Linked DNA regions of Homo sapiens: region 2 is linked to region 1. The links are contacts of gene promoters, found by promoter capture Hi-C in blood cells and fetal thymus (Javierre and others, 2016). All regions are on one chromosome and are shown on one strand. Each heading gives the region's core, a stretch centred on a gene start or on the middle of the fragment in contact. The rest is flanking DNA. Distances are from core to core; before and after follow the strand shown. Region 1 holds the start of MAP1LC3A (microtubule associated protein 1 light chain 3 alpha). Region 2 has its middle 2.0 kb from the start of NCOA6.

Evidence for each region. Contacts are between HindIII fragments. The CHiCAGO score rates a contact against its expected background, and 5 or more counts as called.
Region 2: a fragment that was not itself captured here is called in contact with the fragment with the promoter of MAP1LC3A in region 1 in 1 of 17 cell types (neutrophils); the score reaches 5.2 in neutrophils.

Annotation. Positions count from the first base shown.
Region 1 is chr20:34,557,406-34,560,430 of GRCh38, forward strand. It overlaps MAP1LC3A (microtubule associated protein 1 light chain 3 alpha), which reads left to right and starts at 1,313. Exons shown (of 4, transcript NM_032514.4): 1 at 1,313-1,503; 2 at 1,803-1,858; 3 at 1,942-2,048; 4 at 2,331-2,940. The coding sequence starts at 1,464. The coding sequence ends at 2,493. RefSeq lists silencers at 1,015-1,104, 1,445-1,494. The HindIII fragment of the contact is 14,836 bases long and covers 1-3,025 here.
Region 2 is chr20:34,826,197-34,829,136 of GRCh38, forward strand. No RefSeq gene overlaps it. Among named protein-coding and RNA genes, the nearest start is that of NCOA6, 2.0 kb to the left of the region's middle. The HindIII fragment of the contact is 3,463 bases long and covers 1-2,940 here.

The DNA.
Region 1 (3,025 bases), core at 63-2,562:
AGACAATGCTCAGTCTCTTTAACCCCCTCTCAAATTGCCCTCTCAGTCTTCCATGTTCTTGTGTCTCATGCATCTTGTTTCTGTGGCCCACAAATTAATCATTATTATTCATATTGCATATTAAATGCTTGTTTAGATTCACATGTTTACCAATTTGCTCACCATTTTTCCATCTAATTTCTTCCTTTTGGGTTCCATGTCCTTGTTACTAAACTACATTCTTTAAAAATTATTTCGGCGGCCAGGCGTGGTGGCTCACACCTGTAATCCCAGCACTTTGGGAGGCCGAGGCGAGTGGATCACGAGGTCAGGAGATCGAGACCATCCTGGCCAACATGGTGAAACTCCATCTCTACTAAAAATACAATAATTAGCTGGGGGTGGTGGCAGGCGCCTGTAATCCCAGCTACTGAGGAGGCTGACTGAGGCAGGAGAATCGCTTGAACCCGGGAGGCAGAGGTTGCAGTGAGCTGAGATCGCACCACTGCACCCCAGCCTGGCGACAGAACGAGACTTCGTCCCCCTCCCCCCTCCCCCAAAAAAATGTTGATCTTCAGTCTGCGCATTCTGCTCTGGATTTTAAGCATCATTTCTGGCAGCTCTTTTTCAGGAACTGTCTCTGCAGGTCTTTCAGTGTTCGCCTCTGGAGCTCTGCTCGGGCCCGCGAGTTCTCCTGGCGTTGCCATCTGTGCCCTTTTCCTTATTCCCCATCACCTGTCTCTCTGGTGAGCTGCTTCCGATCAGCCTCCAGGTCCACGATTTCTCTTCTGTTGTCCTTTTCTGCCTTCTCACCTCATCCTCTGAGACCTGAATTTCGATGGCTCTACTTTTCAATTATATTATTCTTTTTCAAACCTGGGCGTTCATTTCTAGCATCCTGTTCTATCCTGTGTCTGACTGTGCCTCCCGCACCTTCTCCCTTCTCTCGCCCTAAGCCCCGTGAAGGCGCCGGGCCTTTGGCTCCGGCTGTTTCCCACGGCGCCCAGAACCGCGTCAGTCCTGACACAGACTCGGTGAGGGCGGGAAGTGGTGCCGTGGGGCTGCAGCCTGGCCCGCCCGCTCCATCGGCCTAGGGCGGCCCCACCGCCCTCCGGGCCTTACCTTGAGTTCGGGCTGCGGGAGAAGCTCCCGCGCTGCCCATGACGTCACGGGACTGTGACGCGCCCAGAAGCCCCGCCCCTCGCGTCCCGGTCCGCGGACCCAGGCTCTCTGCGCCGTGACGTCACGGGTCCGGGCGGGCGGGTTGTGCGTCGGCCCAATGGGAGCGGCGCACTGGCCTCCCCTTTAAGGAATGTTGTGACCTGACGTCACCGGGCGAGTTACCTCCCGCAGCCGCAGCCGCCGTGCTCAGCGCGAGCCCCGGAGCCCTTGAGCGCGAGGCGCGGAGCCCCCGGAGCCCCCAAACCGCAGACACATCCCCGCGCCCCAGAGCCCCGGCCTGCGCGCCCAGCCGGGCCCGCGCGATGCCCTCAGACCGGCCTTTCAAGCAGCGGCGGAGCTTCGGTGAGGCCCGGCAGGCGAGCTGCGAGCTCTGGGGCAGGGGTGCCGGCCGACCCCGACTGCCGCAGGTGACGTCAGCCCCGTGACGTCAGGCTCTGGCTGGACCCTCGGGCTGGGACCAGCTCCGGCCTGGGCGGGGGCTGCCCGCTTCCCCACCGCGATAGGTGCCAGGGGCTGTGGGGCCTGATGGCCCCGGGGGTGGGGGCTGGAGCTGGGGCGTGGCCGGGGGCCGCCCCTCCGGGACAGGCGGGGCGGACCTGGGCCGGCCCGACCCGGCCTCACGGTCTGGCCGCTGTCCGCAGCCGACCGCTGTAAGGAGGTACAGCAGATCCGCGACCAGCACCCCAGCAAAATCCCGGTGAGTCCCGCACCCCCAGCCCTGCCCCGCCCCCGCCTCGCGCGTTCCCGACACGACCCCCTGCCCGCCCGCCCTGCTCCCAGGTGATCATCGAGCGCTACAAGGGTGAGAAGCAGCTGCCCGTCCTGGACAAGACCAAGTTTTTGGTCCCGGACCATGTCAACATGAGCGAGTTGGTCAAGATCATCCGGTGCGTGGGCAGCCGCCGCCAGGAGGTGGCTAGGGTCGGGAGGGGAGCCGGGTTCCCGCCGAGAAGGGGTGGGAGTGGGGTCAGGGGTGATGGGACCGGGCGGTGGGCCCCTGTTCTGGGGTGGCTGGAAAGGTCAAGGTCGGGGCTGCAGTCGGTGTTGGGTCAGAGGTGACAGCTGGGGTGAGAATGGGTGTGAAAGGCTGGGAATCATTCTGGGGGTCAGGGCTATGTCCGTCCCGCAGCCAAGCCCCTCACAGCTGCATACTCTCCCGCCGGCTGCAGGCGCCGCCTGCAGCTGAACCCCACGCAGGCCTTCTTCCTGCTGGTGAACCAGCACAGCATGGTGAGTGTGTCCACGCCCATCGCGGACATCTACGAGCAGGAGAAAGACGAGGACGGCTTCCTCTATATGGTCTACGCCTCCCAGGAAACCTTCGGCTTCTGAGCCAGCAGTAGGGGGGCTCGGCCTGGGAGTCGGGCGGCCCCGGTCAGGCCCTGCCCAGAGAGCTCCTGGTTCCTGAACTGAGCTGCCTCTACCGTGGTGGGCTGGGCAGGCATGTGCCCCCCTAGTCAGAGGGCACCAACCCACCTACTCTGCCCCTGGGTGGATCCTGGGCCGGTCGTGTTAGGGTTGTCCCTCTGGGTGCTGGCTGGTGGGATGGGGGAGGGTGGGGAGCAGCTCCCAGCACCCCTGCTGTGTGGTTCATCTTTTTTTTAGGCCCCTGCCTGTCTGCCCATCTGCCCCTCACCCACCCGAGGCTCTGCCCACCGCCTGGACCTGCCCACCCCTGAAAGACTGGCCCCTGGCTCCCCGCCCCTCGGTCTCCACGTGGTGTATGGATCTGTGGTCATTGTCCCTCTGCAGAATAAAGATTGCTCAGGCCTGCCTGGCCCTGTGCCTCCAGCCGCTTGCTTGGGAGTGGGGAGGGTGCTGGTGGGGCTGCCCGCACCATCCCCGGGCTCTGGCGCACAGACTT
Region 2 (2,940 bases), core at 363-2,862, 270 kb after region 1:
TTCCCAAACGTAGAAAGGCCTCCTCAGCACTGGACTTCATGTCTGTCATACAGGCCTGGATTCATATCTGGCTTTCACTCTTTTTTAAAAATTTTCTGTTTTTTCCCACACTACACTGATGTATTTTTTAAATTTTCGTAAGTACGTAGTAGGTGAATATATTTATGGGGTACATGAGATTTTGATACAGGCATGCGATGTGTAATCACATCATGGTAAATGGGGTATCTAGCAACTCAAGCATTTATCCTTTGTGTTACAAATAACCCAATTATACTCTAGTTATTTTAAAATGTACAAGTAAATTTTGTGTGTGTGTGGTTTTTTTTTTGTTTTTTGTTTTATTTTTGTTTTTTTGAGACGGAGTCTCACTCCGTCGCCCAGGCTGGAGTGCAGTGGCGCGATCTCAGCTCACTGCAACTTCCGCCTCCCTGGTTCAAGGGATTCGCCTGCCTCAGCCTCCTGAGTAGCTGGTACTACAGGCGCATGCCACCACGCCCAGCTAATTTTTGTATATTTTTTAAGTAGAGATGGGGTTTCACCATATTGGCCGGGCTGGTCAGGAACTCCTGACCTCATGATCCGCCCGCCTCTGCCCCTCAAAGTGCTGGGATTATAGGCGTGAGCCACCGCGCCCGGCCAATTGTTTTTTACTGTAGTCACCTTCTTGTGCTAGCAAATACTAGGTCTTATTCTTTCTAACTATTCTTTTGTACCCGTTAATCATTCCCACTTCCCACCTACCTCCCCATTAATCTTACCAGCCTCTGGTAACCCTCCTTCTATTCTCTATCTCCATGAGTTCAATTGTTTTAATTTTTCGCTCCTGGCCCGGCATGGTGGCTCACGCCTGTAATCCTAGCACTTTGGGAGGCCAAGATGGGCGGATCACCTGAGGTCAGGAGTTCAAGACCAGCCTGGCCAACATGGTGAAACCCTGTCTCTACTAAAATACAAAAGCTAGGTGGGCATGATGGCGGGTGCCTGTAATCCCAGCTACTCAGGAGGCTGAGACGGGAGAATCTCTTGAACCTGGGAGATGGTGGTTGCGGTGAGCCTAGCTCGCGCCACTGCACTCCAGCCTAGGTGGCTGAGTGAGACTCCGTCTCAAAAAAAAATAAAAAATAGTTAATTTTTTGCTCCCACAAATAAGTGAGAACATGTGAAGTTTGTCTTTCTGTGCCCGGCTTCTTTCACATAACATAATGACCTCCAGTTCCATCCATATTGTTGCAAATGACACGATCTCACTCTTTTTTAATGGCGGAATAGTATTCCATTGTGTATATGTACATTTTATTTATCCATTCATCTGTTGATGGACACTTAGGTTGCTTCCAAATCTTGGCTGTTGTGAACAGGGATGCAGTAAACATGAGAGTGCAGATCTCTTCCATACACTGATTTCCTTTCTTTCCGGTGTATACCTAAGAATGGGATTGCTGGATTGTATGGCAGCTCTCTTTGGCTTTCGCTCTTGATAGCTGTCCTTGCCTCTCTGAACTTGAGCATCTTCATCTGTAAAATGGGAGTTGGGGTCTGTTCTGAGCATCCCAGGAGATAGAGGATGAGCAGGTGGATTGTAAACTAATTAAACAAATCAGTCCTACTGATCCCATAGAAGAAAGGGAGTCAGGAACCCTTTCATTCCATCAATATTTATTGAGTACACACAGTGTGCTTGGACTGGTGTAGTAGATACCCACCATCTTTTCACATTACCCTGACCGCCCTCTAATCTATTCTCCACCCTGCTGTCAGAGTAATGTTTCTAATGATCAGAAATATGATCATGTCACTACTCTACTTAAAAGTATCTGTTGATGGCCAGGTGCAGTGGCTCACACCTGTAATCCCAACACTTTGGGAGGCTGAGGCAGGTGGATTGTTTGAGCCCAGGAGTTCAAGACCGGGCTGAGCAACATGGCAAACGCTGTCTCAACAAAAAATACAAAAATGGCTGGGCTCAGTGGCTCATGCCTATAATTCCAGCACTTTGGGAGGTCGAGGTGGGTGGATCACGTCAGCTCAGAAGTTCGAGACTAGTCTGGGCAACATGGCAAAACCCCATCTCTACTGAAAATACAAAAATTAGCTGGGCATGGTGGTGCACACCTGTAGTCCCAGCTAATCGGGAGGCTGAGGCATGAGGCAAGAATCACTTGAGCTGGAAGGTGGAGGCTTCAGTGAGCCGAGATAACACCACTGCCCTCCTGCCTGGGTGGCAAAGGGAAACCGTGTCTCAAAAAGACAACAAAAGACAAAAACATAGCAGGCATGGTGCTGCACACCTGTGGCCCCAGCCACTTTGGAGGTTGAGGTGGGAGGATTGCCTGAGCCTGGGAGGTTGAGGCTGCAGTAAGCTAAGATCATATCATTGCACTCCAGCCTGGGCAATAGAGTGAGACCCTGTCTCAAAAAAAAAAAAAAATCTGATGGCTCTACATTGCTCTTAAGATAAAGGCCAAGCCGGGCGCGGTGGCTCACGCCTGTAATCCCAGCACTTTGGGAGGCCGAGGCGGGCAGATCACAAGATCAGGAGATCGGACCATCCTGGCTAACACGGTGAAACCCCGTCTCTACTGAAAATACAAAAAATTAGCCGGGCGTGGTGGCAGGCGCCTGTAGTCCCAGCTACTCGGGAGGCTGAGGCAGGAGAATGGTGTGAACCCAGGAGGCGGAGCTTGCAGTGAGCCGAGATCGCGCCACTGCACTCCAGGCTGGGCGACAGAGCGCGACTCCGTCTCTAAAAAAAAGATAAAGACCAAATAAATGTTGGCCTCCCCACATCTCTAGATTTATCTTAGGGCCCTCTTCCCCTTTCTCTGGGTTGCAACTACAGTGATATTTCTTACACATTGTTCTCCCTCCTTTCTGAGAACCCTTGCACATGCTGATCCCCCTGCCTGCAATGCTCTCCCCACTTAGATAACTCTCAGT